2 separate regions of the Homo sapiens genome follow, and region 1 is linked to region 2. Evidence: promoter capture Hi-C in 16 types of primary human blood cells and fetal thymus (Javierre and others, 2016). All regions are on one chromosome and are shown on one strand. The core of a region is centred on a gene start or on the middle of the fragment in contact, and the rest is flanking DNA. Distances in the headings are between cores, read along the strand shown. Region 1 holds the start of LRRC47 (leucine rich repeat containing 47). Region 2 holds the start of DNAJC11 (DnaJ heat shock protein family (Hsp40) member C11).

Region 1 (5,896 bases), core at 2,790-5,289, 2.9 Mb after region 2:
CACCACAGAGTGACCTGTGTTAGGTCCAGATGGCACAGAGACCCAGGCGGCACCACAGAGCGACCTGCGTTAGGTCGAGATGGCACAGAGACCCAGGCGGCACCACAGAGTTACCTGCGTTAGGTCCAGATGGCACAGAGACCCAGGTGGCACCACAGACTACCAATACTAGCTCTAGACAGCTAGAGCCCCAGATGGCAGATGCAGAGGATTTCCAGGTGCACTTCAGTTCACATCCCACATACTGCTTCCCTCCCACCAGCAGAGCATGAGAGATGCTGATGTCATGAAGGAGAGGGAAGGGAAAATCCCCAAGACAAAGGCAGTCTCGGCAGCCACTAGGAATTCCCTAAGGTCCTAGCCTTGGGGTCAGCTGGCCATGAGCAGCTGGCATTTTCAAGCAGCTGCTGTCCTGCCTGACAGCAAGAGTGGGTAAATCCTGGGACTGCTGTGGCCAATCTCTGCCTTCATTGGAAACCAGGTACACAGGCTGAGCCACTCACAACACAGTGCCTCACACAAGGCACCAGATCTGCAACCAGCTCAAGCGTGGCTGCTCAAAGACCAAAAACATGAGAAGCGAGGTGTGGTGGAAGGAAAGCCGTTTATTAAACAAATGCCAGCCGATGGGACATGGCTGGGCTCATGCCTCCAAGAGACCCTCTGTCTTCTGGGCTGAGTGAGAGGTTTTGGAAGGAAAACTTGGTGTGGGAAACATGTGGGGGTGGTGCAGGAGGATGCAGAAGGGTGCAAGGGGGTGCAGGGGGGTGCAGGGCTGCATGTCTTGTTCCGAAGGTGATCTCGAGTAACACCCTGTCTGAAGGTCCAGCTTGCATCATCCTGACTTTGGCCCAGTAGTGGTGGGCTCACTCTTCCTAACTGCCCCAGAGCAGTAGGATCCACATCTGGGTCTCTGAGCCTGGTTTCCTTCAAAATTAGCCCCTGGAAGTTCTTTTTTTTTTTTTTTTTTTTTTTTTTTTTTTTTTGAGATGGAGCCTCCCTCTGTTGCCCAGGCTGGAGTGTAATGGTGCAATTTCAGCTCAGTGCAACTTCTGCCTCCTGGGTTGAAGCTCCTGCCCTAGCCTCCAAGTAGCTGGGATCACGGGCGCCCACCACCCCACCTGGCTAATTTTTGTATTTTTAGTTAAGACGGGGTTTCACCATGTTGGCCAGGCTGGTCTTGAACTCCTGACCTCAGGTGATCCGCCTGCCTCAGCCTCCCAAAGTGTTGGGATTACAGGAGTGAGCCACCGCGCCCGGCCTGTAAATGGTTTTTGTTTTTTTCTTTGTTTATTTATTTATTATCAGAGTTGATTCTCTCCTGGATCAGGAAAAAGGCCTAGCAAAGCAAGGATACTATCTTCAGAATGTGGATTTCCCCCACAATAGGCAGCCTTGCAGGATTGTTTTAAGATACAGCAAGGAAATATAATTTGGGGTAAAATACTTCAATTTCCTTCAGGGCCTTGATCAGTCACATAATGCTCTACTAGAAACAGGCTAGAATTTGGTATCATTGCTACAAAGAGTCAGCTTTGTCAGTCTTTTATTGTTGTTGTTATTTTGAGATGGAGTCTCGCTCTGTCACCCAGGCTGGAATGCAGTGGTGCAATCTTGGCTCACTGCAACCTCCGCCTCCTAGGTTTAAGCAATTCTCCTGCCTCAGCCTCCCGAGTAGCTTGGATTACAGGCGCCCGCCACCATGCCCAGCTAATTTTTGTATTTTTAGTAGGGATGGGTTTTCACCATGTTGGTCAGGCTGGTCTCAAACTCCTGACCTCAAGTGATCCACCCGCCATGGCCTCTCAAAGTGCTGGGATTACAGCCATGAGCCACCACACCTGGCCTGGCTTTGTCAGTCTTAAAGTCTGTGTTGATATTAATGATGGTCAGGTGGGCCTGAATTCCCAAAGGGAGGAGAATATAATGAGGCATGTCCAACCCCTACCCCTCCACATCCGACCCTTCCCATCATGGCCTGAACTAGTTTTTCAGATTAACTAGGGAATGCCCTTGGCCCAGAGGAGGGGTCCACTCAGATGGTTGGGGGGCTTAGAATTTTATTTTATTTTTATTTATTTATTTTGAGACGGAGTCTCACTCTGTCGCCCAGGCTGGAGTGCAGTGGCGCAATCTCCGCTCACTGCAAGCTCCGCCCTCTGGGTTCTTGCCATTCTCCTGCCTCAGCCTCCCGAGTAGCTGGGACTACAGGCGCCTGCCACCAAGCCCGGCTAATTTTTTTTGTATTTTTAGTAGAGACGGGGTTTCACCGTGTTCACCAGGATGGTCTCGATCTCCTGACCTGGTGATCCGCCCGCCTCGGCCTTCCAAAGTGCTGGGATTACAGGCATGAGCCACCGTGCCCAGCCTCTAGAATTTTATTTTTTGGCCAGGTTTGGTGACTCACACCTGTAATCCTAGCAATTTGGGAGGTTGAGGCAGGTGGATTGCTTGAGTTCATGGGTTTGAGACCAGCCTAGGCAACATGGCAAAACCCCAGCTCTACAAAAAATACAAAAATTAGCCAGGCGTGGTGGCACATGCCTGTGGTACCAGCTACTCAGGGGCTGAGGTGGGAGGATCACTGGAGCCAGGGAAGTTGAGGCTGCAATGAGCCGAGCTGGAACCACTGCACTCCAGCCTGGGTAACAGAGCAAGACTCTGTCTCAATAAATAAATAAATAAATAAATAAGAATTTGGGGGCTGGGTGCGGTGGCTTGTGCCTGTGAGCCCAGCACTTTGGGGGGCTGAGGCGAGCAGATCACCTGAGGTCAGGTGTTCGAGACCAGCCTGGCCAACATGGCGAAAACCGGTTAATATAAAAATTATATTAACACGGTTAATATAAAAATTAACCGGCCACGGTGGCATGCACCTGTAGTTCCAGCGGGAGGCTGAGGCAGGAGAATTGCTTGAACCCAGGAGGCGGAGGTTGCAGTGAACCAAGATAGCATCACTGCACTCCAGCCTGGGTGACAGAGCGAGACTCCGTCTCAAGAAAAAAAAAAGAATTTTGGTTTTGGTTTACACCACTCAAAAGTGCAGGAATTCCAAAACAAGCCGGTCGGGGCACAGTAGAGCACAGACTCTGGCTCCTCCATCCGCCCGCACCCCACCCTGTGAAAGGAAAATAAATCTCAAAACCCCACAATCACTAAGTCAAAGGAAAAAGTCAAGCTGGGAACTGCTTCGGGCAAATCGGCCTCCCGTCTTATTCCTAAATAAGATAGTTACAAATACATATTTTTAAAGCTACACACCTCCCTCACAATTTGCCCACAAAGAAATTCTCTGTGGGCCTCAAGATCTTTACCCTAAAACAGTTCTGTTGAATTTCACCCTGGCAATGCAAATTGATAGCTTCCCTTCACAGGTGCGAGACAAAGGACTGAACTCAAAGCCATCCCTCTGCTCACCTAGACAAATGCATATCTGATCGCTTCCTTTGCTCTACTGTTTACGTAGAAATGAAGATTCAGTAAGCCAGACTAAAGCATAAGCGACTATTCCTCTACCCGCGTCTCACATGCATAATAAATTGTGCAGTCAGCGAAAGGCTGAACAAAGACTCAAAAGAATGCACCCTCCGGTCTCTTCTCTACCTGTGACCTGAAAGCCCTCTCCTGGAATTGTCCAGCCTTTCTGGGCTGAACCAAGGTACACTCGCACGTGTTGATTGATGTCTCACGTCTCCCCAAAATGTACAAAACCAAGCTGCATCCCAACTTCCCTGGGCACCATCGTCACGATCTCCTAGGGTTGTGACACTGGCGTGTCCTTAACCTTGGCAAAATAAACTTTTTACATTTCATTGAGTCCTGTCTCAGATATTTTTGGGTTCATAACCCCCACCCTCACCCCTACCCGCGGAGAGAGCGAGCCGCTCTCCAGCCCCTCCCCGGCTCTACGCAGGAGAGGCCACTCTCCTCTATGGCACGCGCGGCGGCACTCTAGCAGCCAGGTGGCTTCTCTATGGGCTTTTCCGGCACAGGTCGGAAGTGGCGCGCGCTGCCCCGGAAGCACCCTGGTGGGTGGGTGCCTGCCAGCAGCTGAGGCGCCATGGCGGCGGCAGCGGTGTCAGAGTCTTGGCCGGAGCTGGAGCTGGCTGAGCGCGAGCGGCGGCGGGAGCTGCTGCTGACGGGGCCCGGGCTGGAGGAGCGAGTGCGGGCGGCGGGTGGGCAGCTGCCGCCGCGGCTTTTCACCCTGCCGCTGCTGCACTACTTGGAAGTGAGCGGCTGCGGGAGCTTGCGCGCGCCGGGGCCTGGCCTGGCGCAGGGCCTGCCGCAGCTGCACAGCCTCGTGCTGCGGCGCAACGCGCTGGGGCCCGGCCTGAGCCCCGAGCTCGGGCCGCTGCCTGCCCTTCGGGTGCTCGACCTGTCGGGCAACGCGCTGGAGGCGCTGCCGCCGGGCCAAGGCCTGGGCCCCGCCGAGCCGCCGGGCCTTCCGCAGCTGCAGAGCCTCAACCTCAGCGGCAACCGGCTGCGCGAGCTGCCAGCCGACCTGGCGCGCTGCGCCCCGCGCCTGCAGAGCCTCAACCTCACCGGCAATTGCCTAGACTCCTTTCCCGCCGAGCTCTTTCGCCCCGGCGCGCTGCCCCTGCTCAGTGAACTGGCGGCTGCTGACAACTGCCTCCGAGAACTCAGCCCCGACATCGCCCACCTGGCCTCGCTCAAGGTCAGCGGGGGCTGCCCGGGCGGGGCGGGATGGGGCCTTGGAGTAGCCCTGGAGAAGGAACCCCTCTCGGGGCCGAGCAGTTCCTAGTGACGCCCCCTGGGGCACTGGGCCCAGGGAATTCCTACAAGGCTGAAAGGAGCCAGCTGCGGGGGGCATCACCCCTGGGAAGCAGATGCCGCCTTCCAACTCCCCCTTCTCCTGGCCACACCAACATACTAGGTGGCCTCTGAACTCCCCCGCATTCTGTTAACTGGACTTTTACACGTGGTACGCTATTTTGTAATTGTTAGCAAACCTGGCTTCTCCTGTAGATCGAGCGTAGAGACCTGTCTTTTTTGTATCTAGTACTTGTGAAGTGACTTGAGAGTGAGTCTGGTGGTGAAGGGGGCACCCTGGATTTTGCATAATGCCACATGCTGTGATCTTGAAGATTATATTTCACTTCATCCTAATAGCAGCTTTCCAAGGTAGGGGTGGTTATTCCTGTTTTACAGAAAGCCAAAGGGCCTGCCCAAAGTAAGCAGCAGGTAACTTGGGTTTTTCTCCAGACTATATTGTCCAGCGTCTGTTTACTAATTAATCTTGGATCCCCAGGCCCCGCGATAATGCTTGGCCTATAACAGGTGCCCATTGAATCTGTTGCCTAAAAGAAAGTAGGGAAGCCACATGGCAGAACCACGACCTAAACCCAGCCAGATGTTCTCTCCATCTTCTCTTTTGGTTTCATCCTTAAGGCAGTCCTGCATTTCTTCCCCCATTTTTCGTCTTTGAATTTATGCAGACATTTCTTTTTTTTTTTTTTTTTTTTGAGATGTAGTCTGGTCCTGTCACCCAGGCTGGAGTGCAGTGGCGCGATCTCGGCTCACTTCAACCTCCGCCTCCCGGGTTCAAGCGGTTCTTCTGCCTCAGCCTCCTGAGTAGCTGGGCTTACAGGCGCACACCACCACGCCCGGCTAACTTTTGTGTTTTTAGTAGAGACGGGTTTCACTGTGTTGGTCAGGCTGGTCTCGAACTCCTGACCTCATGTGATCCGCCTGTCTCGGCCTTCCAAAGTGCTAGGATTACAGGTGTGAGCCACCGCGCCTGGCCTATGTGGACATTTCTTAATAAAATACGTATACACTTTAGCAGCTTATCTATTTATTTGCTGTAGCAATTCCTCAAGACATTGCAACTCATTTTACAAGTAACATATCTATATAAGGATATATAGACAAACCC
Region 2 (5,757 bases), core at 2,353-4,852:
AGATCACTTGAGGTCAGGAGTTCAAGACCAGCCTGTCCAACATGGCAAAACCCTGTCTTTACTAAAAATACAAAAATTAGCTGGGCGTGGTGGCACATGCCTGTAATCCCATCTACTCGGGAGGCTGAGGTATGAGAATCACTTGAACCCAGGAGGTGGAGGTTGTGGTGAGCAGAGATCATGTCACTGCACTCCAGCCTGGGCAACAGAGTGAGACTCTGTCTCAAAAGAATAAATAAAATAAAGATGAGAGAATTTGTTAGCAGTTGCATAAATGCGTATATCTCATATAATATTTGCGTAAATATAAAATACATATGCCCATGTATGTATAGTTACATAAATATATTACATCAGTTTATATTTAAATGTCACCTATTAAGTTTTGCTTTACAGCTATGTTACAGACTGTTTTGTGGTTTCACCCAACAAAAAGAAACCAAAAGGCCAGGCACGGTGGCTCACACCTGTCATCTCAGCACTTTGAGAGGCTGAGGCGGGCAGATCACTTGAGACGGGAGTTCCAGACCAGCCCTGCAATGTAGCAAGACCCTGTCTCTACAAAAAATACAAAGCTTAACCAGGTATGGTGGCGGGCACCTGTAGTCCTAGCTACTATGGAGGCTGAGGTGGGAGAATTACCTAAGCTTGAAGAGGTGGAGGCTGCAGCAAGCCATGATTGCACCACTGTACTGCAGCCTGGGTGACAGAGGGAGACCCCGTCTCAAAAAAAAAAAAAAGAAAGAGAAAAGAAAAAGAAAACAAAGTGCAAGGCATGAGTTAAAGCAGCTGGGTTTTGTCAGTTGCTCGGCGTAAGTAGTTTGTTGGATGTGCGTTTTTAACTTATAAATTTGTACTGCCTTTGGTTTCCATTATTTTGCCCGTTGAAGATTAGGGTTTTGGAGGAGAGAAACGAGAGAGCCAGCCTCAGAAACAGATACATTCCTCAAGCCTGTGGAGCATCTAAGTTAGCTTTCTATTTATCACCACCACTTTCCAAGTAACCATAACACAAAATCTCGTGGGCCCAAGAGAGGACAGCCACAGAGCATTCCTGAGTCACTATTTATCTTGTTTGAGTGGTGATAAAAACCAGGTCATTCTCAATCATAGAAACACAGACCTGGGCGTAGTGAAACATATGTTATGTTCCATTTATATAATTCCTAGAGGCTGTGTTTTCCAAAGCAGAGGAGGGATGGCAAAGAACTTCTCTACCCAAGTAAGCATTATGGCCCAATTAATGTCTACAAACCTAAGGAGGCCGGGCGCGGTGGCTCACGCCTGTAATCCCAGCACTTTGGGAGGCCGAGGCAGGTGGATTACTAGGTCAGGAGACCAAGACCATCCTGGCTAACATGGTGAAACCCCATCTCTATTAAAAATACAAAAAAAAAAAATTAGCCAGGCGTGGTGGCAGGCGCCTGTAGTCCCAGCTACTCAGTAGGCTGAGGCAGGAGAATGGCATGAACCCGGGAGGTGGAGCTTGCAGTGAGCCGAGATCGTGCCACTGCACTCCAGCCTGGGCGACAGAGCGAGACTCCATCTCAAAAAAAAAAGAAAAAAGAAAAAAGAAAAAAAAACCTAAGGGAAAAAGGAATGTCTCCACATTGTTGTTTTTACCCCCAGTCTCTCTGTATGAAATTCTTGGCCGGGTGCGGTGGCTCACGCCTGTAATCCCAGCACTTTGGGAGGCCGAGGCAGGTGGATCACGAGGTCAGGAGTTCGAGACCAGCCTGGCCAATATGGTGAAACCCCGTCTCTACTAAAAATACAAAAATTAGCTGGGCGTGATGGCGCACGCCTGTAGTCCCAGCTGCTTGGGAGGCTGAGGCAGGAGAATCGCTTGAACCCGGGAGGCGGAGGTTGCAGTGAGCCAAGATCGTGGCACTGCACTCCAGCCTGGGCGACCGAGTGAGACTCTGTCTCAAACAAAAAAAAAAAAAAAGAAAGAAATTCTTAAAGACTGTCAAATGTCAGCATGCAGTTTGGCCCTAACCACAGCTCTTTTCTCTGCAAAGGAGAAAAAGGCAAAGCCCATAACATTGCTGGAAGAGCTGATGGACCATGGAAGCTGTTGTGGAGAAGCTTCACACAACTAAAGAAATAGCCCTTAATTTACAACCTGGGCTGACAGTTTGTTTCAGGCTGACTCAACCCACCCGAACAATCTGTCTCAGCACACCGAAGTGTCTCATGCCAAAAGATCCTAAGAGGGCTGGGCAACTTGGAAGGGATGAGACACAGGCCCAGATGGTGCACATCTGGCCAAAAATTAGAAAGAGAAAGAAATCAGCCTCTCAAATCCACAGACAGGTGTTCGGGGCTTCCCAGGAGACCTGCTTATGAAGGGCAACGGGGATGGCTATGGACTGGTGGTTAGTGAAGGAACAACAAAGGTTTCTGAGACTTGCGCAGGTCAGCGGGAACCAAACAGGTGGCAAGAGTGGGCTGCTGTCCACCTTCCCTTGACAATGGCGTCATTTCGAAGACCTTTAAATTATTTAGATTGTTGTAACCAAGACATCTTTAATAATGCACCAAACAGCAGGCACCAGGTTGAAATCAATTAGACTCCACCGATAAATTATAAGGGAGAAATTTACAGGAGAATGGCTCTGGGGTAGGGACTGCAGGTACACATGCCTGCCAGAGACAATTATATCAGGAACCAAATAGTTATTGCTTTGTCATTTAAGCAGCAGAAAAGATGGCCAGGTGCTCCTAAATTAGAGCAATAACAAATAACTAAAATGAGGAGGCCTGTTCTGGGCAGGAAGGCTTCTGGGTGGCCAAGAGAAAAGACAATGGAGGTAGGAACAAATGTCATTTGGGGGATATCTAGGATCCGGATGCACCCTGCACTGGGGGCACCTCGCGCTTCTTCCAGGAGTTTGGGGCCAGTGGGGTAACAGGTGGTATCACAGGGGTTTGTCTCCCAGAGGATGACAATCTCCTGGAGGTGACTTCAAAGTTTCCCTTTCTAGGCAGGACGCGGTGGCTCATGCCTGTAATCCCAGCACTTTGGGAGGCCGAGGATCTCCTGAGTTCAGGAGCCTCAGACCAGCCTGGCCAACATGGTGAAACCGTGTCTCTACCAAAAATACAAAAAAATTAACTGGGCGTGGTGGCGCGCGCCTGGAGTCCCAGCTACTCGGGAGGCTGAGGCAGGAGAATCGCTTGAACCCGGGAGGTGGAGGCTTCAGTGAGCCGGGATTGCGCCACTGCACACACACCAGGCTGGGCGACAGAGTATGACTCCGTCTCAAAAAAAAAAAAAAAAAGCAAAGTTTCCCTTTCTAGTACAGGAAAAGCCCTAGGGAGTCCTGGCTGGATCTCAGGCCCCCGAGGACGCAGCCACGCCGCGTGCCACGCGTCCATTGGGAGCACGAAGAGACACCCGCGTGGTCACCCCGCCAGGGCTGCCTAGGCGCCGCGTCCCGCCCTAGGCCGCGCGGGGGCGCAAAGCGCAGGCGCACTCCCGCCGGGCGCGGACGGCTCCGGGCCGCCAGGGGCCGCTGTGGCGCAGCCGGGCTGGCCCGCGCTGTCCCTGACGCGGATCACTGGCCCCTCTTGAGCACGGCCTTGCCGGTTTGGCGGGGTGAAAGGTTGCGAAGATGGCGACGGCCTTGAGCGAGGAGGAGCTGGACAATGAAGACTATTACTCGTTGCTGAACGTGCGCAGGGAGGTGAGGCCAGCGGCTGGACGCTCTGGGGGCTGAGGCCGAGCCCGGTCGTTCGGGAGGGCCGGGCTGGCGGTGGCCGCCCCACCCCCGCCACGGGAGGCTCGGGTCCGTCGGGGAGGCCGCGTGACCCCGGCGACGTGCACGCCAGCCGCCCGATGGAGGCGTCCCCACCGCCCAGACCCTCCCGCCGGGGGTTCCGGGGCCAGCCTCCGCCCCAGCTCCTGAAGGCCAGTGCGCCGCGTGCACTGTGTCCGGGTAGGGCCAGAGGCCCCCGCACGCTCAAGAGGAAACGGGGGCCCCGAGGAGGCCACCGTAGTGGGGTTAGCAGTCCTCCGAGACCCCGTCTCGCGCTCAGCCCACATACTCGTCCTGGCTGAGGGGCTGTGTCATCGCCCGCCGCCAGCAGGATGGCGAACTGAGTCTCACCCACCAAGGTCAAGGCCACTAGGGAACGTCCTTAGGGCTTTTTCCGGTTCCCGAGTCTTTCGTGGGGACGCTCTGCCTCTGAAGTGGGTCCAGCCTCAGAGGCATGCGTCTCATGCCCTCTTTCATTCCCCTGGACCCGATGTCCAGAAATTGCAGGCAGAGCCTCCGGGACACAGACCCTCGGCTCGGAGGCTGCAGATTAGGAAGAAGCCCTAGGCCAGAAAAGTGGTGCCCTAACAACAGCTTCAACATTCACACCAAGCACTTGTACCCTGTCTCCTCAACGAATAAAAGATAACATGAGAGAGTCTCACATAGCCTGGCAGTAGTAGGGCCCCACTACACTCCTTTGTTCTTGACTAGTCTGGAGTTGAGATAGGTGTGAAGGGCGAGAAGGCTTCCAGGGTCAGGTCATGAGGTGGATCAGTTTCTTTAAGCCGATGGGTCCAGACTTTTCAGCCCTGCCAGAGAATTCCTAATTCCATCTCTCAGGTTTTCCAGTGGTAATGAAAGCTAGCCAAGTTTGGCTATGCTAACCAAAGCGGGTTCAGTGTGTGTTGTCAGTAAATATTAGTCTATGTGATGTTAATAATACAAACTTATCTTGTGTGGGACCACTATGCTGAATGAACTTTGTACTGTTATCTCATTTAATTCTGAGGATAGCTCTTAAGGTAAGTATTATGATAGCCCTTGATTTACACTTGAGGAAACCAAGGCATAGAGAGATTAAGTAGTGTGTCTAAAGTCACACTACTAGAAAGTGCAAGAGCCTGAACTCAACCCAGGCAGTCTGACTCTGGAGCCCAGCTTGTGAGCTCCATGCTAGTCTGTCACCTTACCTTACCAGTCCTTGGACTACAAAGCTGCTAGTTCTGGTACTGTATCCTTGAGTGTCACGCGCGTCCGTGTGAAGAGACCACCAAACAGGCTTTGTGTGAGCAATAAACCTTTTTAATCACCTGGGTGCGTATGGGCTGAGTCCGAAAAGAGAGTCAGCAAAGGGTGGTGGGATTATCATTAGTTCTTATAGGTTTGGGATAGGCGGTGGAGTTAGGAGCAATTTTTTGTGGGCAGGGGGTGGATCTCACAAAGTACATTCTCAAGAGTGGGGAGAATATTACAAAGTACCTTCTTAAGGGCGGAATATCACAAAGTACATTATCACAAGGGCGGGGAGCGTGTATTGTCATAAGGCCAATTGACCAGTTAGGGTGGGGCAGGAGTAAATCACCATGGTGGAATATCTTCAGTTAAGGCAGGACCTGGCTATTTTCACTTCTTTTGTGGATCTTCAGTTGCTTCAGGCCATCTGGATGTATATGTGCAGGTCATAGGGGATATGATGGCTTAGCTTGGGCTCAGAGGCTTGATACTGAGCACCTCATGAAAGAATCCCTCGAATGTATGGGCCACTGTACTATGAGAATGTCCAGTGAAATATCTTTGGGAATTGCAGATTTTGTTAGGCTGCCATAGGGCACCTGGGGGTTCTTGTTCTCATTAATCAACACTTCGGGCTAATCACTCCTTTTTTTCCTTTTTTTTTTAAATTATACTTTAAGTTCCAGGATACATGTGCAGAACGTGCAGGTTTGTTACATAGGTAAACATGAGCCATGGTGGTTTGCTGCACCCATCAACC

What was found. The method cuts DNA at HindIII sites, captures the fragments that hold promoters and counts their contacts. A CHiCAGO score of 5 or more calls a contact.
Region 1: a contact is called between the fragment with the promoter of LRRC47 here and the fragment with the promoter of DNAJC11 in region 2, in 1 of 17 cell types (neutrophils). The highest score is 5.7, in neutrophils.

Annotation. Positions count from the first base shown.
Region 1 is chr1:3,794,641-3,800,536 of GRCh38, reverse strand. It overlaps LRRC47 (leucine rich repeat containing 47), which reads left to right and starts at 4,039. Exons shown (of 7, transcript NM_020710.3): 1 at 4,039-4,675. The coding sequence starts at 4,061. RefSeq lists an enhancer at 3,858-4,152 and a silencer at 4,268-4,477. The HindIII fragment of the contact is 14,897 bases long and covers 1-5,896 here.
Region 2 is chr1:6,699,661-6,705,417 of GRCh38, reverse strand. It overlaps DNAJC11 (DnaJ heat shock protein family (Hsp40) member C11), which reads left to right and starts at 3,602. Exons shown (of 16, transcript NM_018198.4): 1 at 3,602-3,689. The coding sequence starts at 3,618. RefSeq lists a silencer at 3,366-3,815. The HindIII fragment of the contact is 16,969 bases long and covers 2,091-5,757 here.